Regions from separate parts of the Homo sapiens genome. Here region 2 is linked to region 1. Evidence: promoter capture Hi-C in 16 types of primary human blood cells and fetal thymus (Javierre and others, 2016). All regions are on one chromosome and are shown on one strand. The core of a region is centred on a gene start or on the middle of the fragment in contact, and the rest is flanking DNA. Distances in the headings are between cores, read along the strand shown.

What was found. The method cuts DNA at HindIII sites, captures the fragments that hold promoters and counts their contacts. A CHiCAGO score of 5 or more calls a contact.
Region 2: the fragment with the promoter of USP22 here is called in contact with the fragment with the promoter of ZNF18 in region 1 in 1 of 17 cell types (total CD8 T cells); the score reaches 8.8 in total CD8 T cells.

The regions. Positions count from the first base shown.
Region 1 is chr17:11,995,522-11,999,743 of GRCh38, forward strand. It overlaps ZNF18 (zinc finger protein 18), which reads right to left and starts at 1,954. Exons shown (of 7, transcript NM_001303281.2): 1 at 1,910-1,954. RefSeq lists a silencer at 1,653-2,102 and enhancers at 2,035-3,018, 2,133-2,372, 2,443-2,522. The HindIII fragment of the contact is 4,230 bases long and covers 1-3,149 here.
Region 2 is chr17:21,040,711-21,044,932 of GRCh38, forward strand. It overlaps USP22 (ubiquitin specific peptidase 22), which reads right to left and starts at 2,301. Exons shown (of 13, transcript NM_015276.2): 1 at 1,955-2,301. The coding sequence starts at 2,125. RefSeq lists a silencer at 1,987-2,586 and enhancers at 2,122-3,071, 3,072-4,019. The HindIII fragment of the contact is 4,087 bases long and covers 1-3,601 here.

The DNA of each region.
Region 1 (4,222 bases), core at 704-3,203:
AAAATACAAAAATTAGCTGGGCATGGTGGTGCGCACCTGTAATCCCAGCAACTCAGGAGGCTGAGGTAGGAGAACAGCCTGAACCTGGGAGGCGGAAGTTGCAGTGAGTCAAGATCGTACCACTGCACTCCAGCCTGGGCGACAGAGGGAGACTCCATCTCAAAAAAAAAAAAAAAAAGAGTCAGTGAAGTCAAAAAATCTGAACACTATCAACCGACTTGCTCTAATTGACATTTTCAGAACACTAGACCCAAGAACTGCAGAGTATACATTCATTACAAGTGCAAAGAGTATTCATCAAAACAGACCATATGCATAATTTTCAAATGACTGATATCTTAAAATTAGCTCTAAAAATATTACGCAAAGTGGTATTGCTAAAAAGCCATTAAAGCAATACCAAAAAACACTCAAAAACCCAATATCTGATAGAAAAGGAACACAAGAGAAACAAAACCAGAAAGGTCAAATGGAAAACTTTAGAGCTTCCTGGGTTCAAATATATTCTCTGATCATAGTGCAATTAAAGTAGAAATCAATAACAATAACTAGAAAATCCCAATTTATGGAAATTACTAAATAATGCTCTTAACCCATAGTCAAAGAAAAAAATCACAAAGGAAATTAAAATATGTTTTCATACTGAGTGACAATGACAGCATTATCAAACCACCTGAAAAGCAGCTTTAGCTCAGAGGTAAACCTACAGTTTCAAATAACATCTTAAAAAACGAATAAATATATTTTTAAAAATACCTTGCTTTGTAAATCCAACCTATTTGGCTCAAGAGTTTCAAATAACAAGCGGCAAGATTTTAGATAGCAAGATACCGACCTGTAAACTTACTGCAATTTATCTGTTTCCTAAATTAAGATAGCAGTTTAGATAATATTTAAGAGAAATGACATTTTGGAAAAACTACAGATTTTATAAAATACTTAAATCTTTTGTTAGTAATATTATACTCCCAGGTAGTGTGTAAGAAAAATGTCTCGATTATTCAAAATTAAATTACTTTATATAGTATTAAAAATTTAATAGAGTTTATATTCCGATAACCTCATGAGGAACTGCCCCCATTAGTTATGAAAAAAAAATAAGGTTGTCTGTTATACCTGTTATTAAACCTTTAACAAATAGAATGAATTTTTAAAAGTGCATTCTAGGTGTAATATACACAAGTGGTTACATACATGGTTACATATATAAGTAACCATTTGTTAAGCACCTACTACGTATCGGCTCATTATTAAGCTCGGTTCATGTATTTCCAATTCCCACAATTACCCTGGTGTACAGATCAGGAACCTCCGAGGCTCACAAGTGGCAGCCAGATTAACCCAGGAAGCTCTAAAGCCTTTGCTTTGGGGAGAACTGCCAACGTCTGGTGATTTGTTGGGGCGTTTTCTGGTTGTCACAAGCAGCTAGGGGAACTGGCATTTAGTGCTCGAGGCCAGGGCAGCGCTGCTCATTGGATATGTATTCTCCACCATGCGCCCCCCAAATGCCGACTGCACTCTGATGAGAGAGGGAGAGACTCCAGGCATCATCCCATCGGGTTTCCTCTTCCAGAGACTCATTTTCAGCCCTTAGGGGAAGACAGCGGGGAGGAGCCCGTTTTCGGTCCCAGTGCAGAGACCCGGCCGGTCCCGCGGGGCGCAGAGGCGCAGGAATGCAGAGCCGGGACGGGGTTCACACATCCCCCCGCACCCACGGTCCACTCCCAGCCATGGCTGCCCCGGCCCCGCACTCGCCACGTCCCCCGCGCGCTCCCAGACGCATGGGCAAGGGAGCCCGCTGGCCCCTCCGTAGCTCCGGGGTGCCCAGCTGAGTCAGGTGCGGACGCAGATAGCGCAAGGCCTGACCCCGAGCGGCCGGAGGCCGGGACCGCCCCGCAAGCGCGCTCACCTCGGCCCGCGGCGCCGGCTCCGGGCGCACTTCCGGGAGCTGGGTGGCTGCGCGCGCCTCAGGCGGCAGGCGAACGACGTGCGGCACCGGGCGGAGCTAGGGGGCGGGGGCGGAGCTGATACCGAAGCTCCTATTGGCCGTCGGGGACGCCCCGCCTCTCTCTGGCGTTGCAGCCCAGGAGCCTCCACCGACATGGCAGCGAGGTTCCCGAGCCAACGCCATCCTCCGTTCCTTCCGTCACTCACTCACTAATCACTGTTCCTGAGTTCCTTCACTTCTCACCCGTCATTTATTGCGCACCTATTCTGTGCCAGGCACTCGGCCAAGCACTGCGAGGCCTTCAAAGATCATTTCTTTGTCTCTCCCAAACCCTTCCGCCCAGTCCCACCCGCAGAGCTGCAACGCTCTGCCATTATCCCTGATTCTTAACCGCCGCCTTTCTCCTTTCCGTTCTTGCCTCACTGGGCCTCCCTGAGACACTTGATTTGCCCCAACCTTCTTCCTCTGTCTTGGTTCTCCCACTCTCATCAGCTCTGCATCCCCTGGGTCCTCTCCCACTTCTCCCCATTCCGTTGGGGCTAGTCCAATGTGGTGCCATCCTCTTTCCACCTGCGTCTCTCTCTCTTCTCTCTCTCTCTCTCAACAAATGTCATCCCTGACTCTTCCCTTCTCCTTCCCTTTCCCACACGCCAACAATGGCTGAATCCTCTGATTTGACCTCATTGTCTCTCAGACACCTCACCCTCTCTCCCTTCTCACTATCCCTCCCTCGGCTCAGTTCCACACCATTTGTAATGGTCAAGACCTTCTTACCCTTTCCCCAGCGTCCAGTGTTGCCGGTTTCCAGGCCATCCTGTGCTGGGCCACGACATCAACTTGTGATACTAAGTTGCATTAATGGAAGTATCATGTCAAAGTTTGGGTGTTCCACCTTGGGCAACTGGCAAAGAGGAGGGTATTCAAAAAAAGCTGCCATGTTCCCCAATAACCTATGGAAATAAAATAAATAAAAAATAAAAATTTAAAGAAGAGCTGTCATTATCATAACATGTCCTGTACCTGTCATTATCATAACATGTCCTGTACCTGTCATTATCATAACATGTCCTGTACCTGTCATTATCATAACATGTCCTGTACCTGTCATTATCATAACATGTCCTGTACCTGTCATTATCATAACATGTCCTGTACCTGTCCCATGTTTACAAGAATTAAAGATCCTCCTCTGGAGAAATAAAGCTTGATGCGGGGATGGGATTACATCTTCATGTACCTGAAAAGTGACCAGCGGAAAAGGGATTCGACATGTTCTCTTAAGTCCCAGGGTCTGAACAAGATCCTATGTGTGAAACTACTGTTTCAGCCTGACATAGGTGGAAGTTTCTAGTCTTTTTTTTTTTTTTTTTTTTTTTTTGTATTTTTGGTGGAGACGGGGTTTCACCATGTTGGCCAGGCTGGTCTCGAACTCGTGACCTCAAGTGATCCACCCACCTTGGCCTCCCAAAGTGCTGGGATTACAGGCATGAGCCATGGCACCTAGCTGGACGTTTCTAACATTCATGTGATTGATGGCGCTGCTTTGAGTTCCTGAGGACAGCATGGCTAACAATTTACCAGGCACATTTAGAGGGACACCTTCATTGGGTATTGCTTCCAACATCAATGTGCTCTGCTTCTAAGAAAGTCAAGAGATAAGGTGGTTTAGAGGGGAAGATTATAGGAGTTTTATCTTCAATGTGTTCGCTTTTAGCTGATCAACACCCAAGGAAGATAACAGTAATTCAAAACCATTAATTGGGTTCTGACTCCTTTGTGAATCTGATGGAAGGTAAAATTTTTCCCAAGAAAAATGCACATACACATCTACATACAACACTTTGCACTCAAATCCAGGGAGCTAACACAGCCTTGAAACCCATCCTTGGAACCCACAAACCTCAGTTTGAGAACTCTAATCCTGGTAGATGGTTCCTGATATGAAAATGACACTTTGAAGTTTAATAATTTCTTTATAAACTGGCACCTTAGGAAAAGGCATAAACACTTATTTCGAAACAGGCTGAACAATCAAAATATTTTTTAAAATAGGGAGATATCTACCTCAGCTTAGGAAATAATGAAAAGGTGTCATCTATTTCTATTATTCACTTACTCATTCAATAAATATTTACCAGATGATGTGCCCAGCACTCTTCCAATAGCTATATATGCAAGAATGAACTAAACACACAAAGTCCCAGCCCTCCCAAGACTTATATTTTGTAGGGTGAGCTGGACAATAAATAAGTGCACAAGTGGTAATTATAGGTG
Region 2 (4,222 bases), core at 1,051-3,550, 9.0 Mb after region 1:
AGGGAGAGGGAGGGAGGGAACGGAAAAAGAAAAGGAGGGAGAGGAAGAGTGGGGCGGTCCCCACTTCATCCAAAGTAGTAACAAATCTTGGGCGCGTCACGTCCCAATCCGGACACTACTGACCCAGAGTAGCAACAGCACATTCCCTGTAGAAGACTGGCTTCAACCAGGCCACCCTTTTTTTTTTTTTTCCGGAGGGGGTCTTGCTCTGTCACCCAGTCTGGAGTACAGTGGCGCGATCACTGCTCACTGCAACCTCCGCCTCCCGGGTTGAAGTGATTCTCCTGCCTCAACCTCTGGAGTAGCTGGGATTACAGGCGCCCGCCATCACACCCGGCTACTTTTCGTATTTTTAGTAGAGATGAGGTTTCACCATGTTGGCCAGGCTGGTCTCGAACTCCTGACCTCGTGATCTGCCCCCCTCGGCCTCCCCACGTGCTGGGATTACAGGCGTCAGCCACCGCGCCAAGCCAGGCCATCTTTTCTTAAAGACACACAATTCTACTAGCAAGACTCTAACTCCGATCCTGAAACGTTTTATGTCTGATTTTAGTTCATCCAGACATAACGCTACCTGATACCATTACAGATAAAAAAAATTTTGAGGCCGGGCACGGTGGCTCATGCCTGTAATCCCAACACTTTGGGAGGCAGAGGCGGGTGGATCACCTGAGATCAGGAGTTCCAGACCAGCCTGGCCAACATGGTGAAACCCCGTCTCTACTAAAAATACAAAAATTAGCCGGGCGTGGTAGCAGGAGCCTGTAATCCCAGCTACTCAGGAGGCTGAGGCAGGAGAATCGGCTGAACCCGGGAGGCGGAGATTGTAGTGAGCCGAAATCGCGCCACTGCACTCCAGCCTGGGGTACAAAGCGAGACTTCGTCTCAAAAAAATAATTTTTTTTTTGAATTACTGCTTAACATACCCTACAATCTCAGCGAGCCTGTTGGTATTCCCATAAATAAAAAAATGCCACTCAAGGTGGAAACTGCCCTCACAACTCCCAATCTCGGATTGTAATCTACAAAAGCGCGTGAAACTGTAAAAATAAACTTTATTCACATAGAAGAATCACGTTACGTTTTGATTTCCAAACCCTTACCAAGCCTAACTGCGGGACGCAAGACTGGGCTCCCCGAGGGGACTCACTCCTGGTTAAGGCCTCCCACAGCCCACGGCGCGCTTCCAAGTCTACTCCTCAGCCGCAACGCAAACCCGGGCTGTGGCTCCGCACCCACAGGCTCGCCCCGGCCCCAGCCCCTGCCGCCCTCCACCTCCAGCTCCTCGCGGGCCCCGAGGCAGCCGCGAAGCTCCGGCCCCGCGCCCCCCAGCCCGCCTCCTGCCCCAGCTCCCGTCCAAGGTCGCTCCTGGCGGCGGGTGACCGCTGCAGACCAACGCCCAGAACTCGACAGCCCCCCATCCTTTACTCATTTTTTTGAAATATTTCTTTCTCTGCACCCGCATCCAGCCCCGAACCCTCCAGAACCAGGAGAGTTCCCCGCAAGGACCTCGCGCAGGAACGCCCGGGACCGCCCACCGAAGTCCCAGGCTCCCCAGGCAGCAGGGCAGGAGAACACCACCCCCGGCCCGGAAGCACTCGCCCCTCCCGGGCCAAGAAGGATAAGGGAGGGGGAGGGCGGAGAGAAAGGAGGGGGAGGGGACAGAGAGGAGGGGGAGGGGACAGAGAGGAGGGGGAGGGAAAGGAAGAATGGGGGAAGGGGGGAGAGGGGAAGGATAGGAAGATGAGGAGATAAGGGAAGGGAGAGAGTTGAGGGGGGAAGGAAAGGAGGGGGAAGGGGTAAAGAGAAGAGAGGGCAGAAGGAGAGAGGAAGAGGAAGGACAGGGAAAGGCAACGGGGGAAGGGAAGAGGGCAGGAAAAGGGCCCCTCCGCCGGCCGGCCTCAGGAGCGGCAGAAGGCCCCGAGCCCGCCGCGCGGTGGGCTGCCGGGCGCACCTTGCGCTTGCGGGCCTCAGCCGTGCCGCTCCACACGAAGCACTGGTAGATGGCCCGCAGGTTCTGCTTCCAGTTGTCCACCTTGAAGCTGCCCAGGTGCGAGCAGCCCGGCGGCGCTACCGCCAGCTCGGCGTCCATGGCCTCGCCCTCGGGCTCTGGCCGGGACACCATGGGGGGCAAGGCCCGGCCGCGCGCGGGGGGCGGCGGCGAGGGAGGCGAGGACGACGCCAGCGCGGCGTGGGGGCTGCTCGGCGGCTGGCCAGGCTGGCCAAGGCCCGGGCGCCGAGAACAAAGCGCGGAGGCCGGACAAAGATGGGGCTGCGCGATCGCCGAGGGGAGGCTGCAAGGCAGGCACCGCCCCCGAGCTGCGGCTGCTGCGGACCGCCTGCGCTGCGCTCTCGCGGTTCGCGGAGGGTGTCGCGGGGCGGGGCGCCGCGGCCGCGGACGGAGATTACGTCACCCCCCCCCCCCCTCCCGGCCGGCACCGCACTGCGCAGTCTCCAGCCCGCGCCAGGCCCTTCCCCCACACTCGCGCGCCCGTTAGGCTCTGGGTAGACCCGCGCCCGAGGAAGCGTGGTAGGGGGGGGAAGCTAACGAGGGCCCGCCCCTCCCCTTCCTTTATTGGTAGTAGGCCACCCCCCCCCCCCCCCCGGCACCTTCGGCTATTGTCATAGGCTCTCAGTATAGTCCGTCTGGTACAGAGCCGCCTCCCGGGACCCTGGCGGCTAGACGTTCCCTGTCTCTTCCAGAGGACTGGGGAGGCGGGGGCGTGCTGCGGTTGGGCGGCGCGAGACGTCAGTCCTAGCACTGAACCGGTTTGCGCCGGCCTGAGCTCTGCCGCAAAGAGGCGGGGCGATGAGCTGGAGCGCCGCAGGTCGGGCCTCCATCCAGGGCCTGCGCTTTCCCACCCAAAAGCACCCCCTAATCGGGAGCTGTTTGCAGGGCCCCCGGTTGCCGTAACCTGGCTCGGGCCCTGCAGTGCCGTGGCCCGGGGCTGGAACTGCCTGCCAACTGCCTGGTAGGCGCTGCCCCCGGCCGCAAGCTGGGGCGCCTCCTGTCGGGAGCCCGCTGATAGTGAGGGCCAACCCGGCGCCATCCAGTTTAAAGAGGCATCTGCGCGCCACACGCCTGACACTTCACATTTGCTAGTGGCTACATTTTTCTAATGAAAAAAGAAAGTTACAGTAATATATCTCAACCCAATAAAGTCAAATTATTTCAGCATGTAGGCAGTATTGCAAAATCGTTAGTGGAATGTTTTACAGTTTTTGCAGCAAGTCTTGGAAATCTGGTATTTACACTTAAAGCACATCCAATTCCTACTAGCTGCTACCGCAGTGGGCGGCACAGGTCTAATCGGTATACAAATAACTGACCCAAGGCAAACTGAGAAGACATTTAAAGACGAATGCAAACGAAGTTCTGGGGGAACCAGGGCGCCAAGGGTCTGGGGGAACTTGGATAAGGTGTCAGGTGTGGAGCTGCTCCCCTGTACTCATCCCGCTGCTAACTGCTTTGCTCATTCATTCATCCACAGATTGCAGGAAACAGCAATTGCCGTCCAGAACCATCACAAGTTAAAAAATAAAGATTGTGATCTCACAACACTTAAAGCTACAGGGTTTAATGGACTGACGACTGGGATAAAGCTTTTGTGGCCAAGACAAATTGCCGAGCACAGGTTTTTGCCTCATGGCCTTCGTGCTTGCAGTACCCTCTCCCTAAAATGCTTTCCCTACCCCCTCACCCTCTGCATCCTTATATTCCATGTCTGATGCTCGCTCACCTCCTTCCAGCTTTATCACACACCTCCTTTTCCGTGAAAAGGAAAATTGCCACCCTAATGAAAATTGCAAGCCCCCCAAAATTCTCCATTCCCTTACCCTGCTTTGTTTTTCTCCAAAGAATTTATCACTATCTGGCGTAATGAATATTTACTTATTTTTTTTATTGTCTCTTCCCTTAATAGCATGAAAAATTACGAGAGGGTAATCTTTTTTTTTTATTTTTTATTTTTGAGACAGAGTCTCGCTCTGTTGCCCAAGGCTGGAGTACAGTGGTGCAATTTCGGCTCACTGAAACCTCCGCCTCCCAGATTCAAGCGATTCTCCTGCCTCAGCCTCCCCAGTAGCTGATATTACAGGCGCCTGCCACCACGCCGCTAATTTTTGTATTTTTAGTAGAGAGGGGCTTTCACCATGTTGATCTGGAACTTTTACTAGAAATGGGGTTTCGTCAGGCTGGTTTTGAACTTCTGACAGCAAGTGG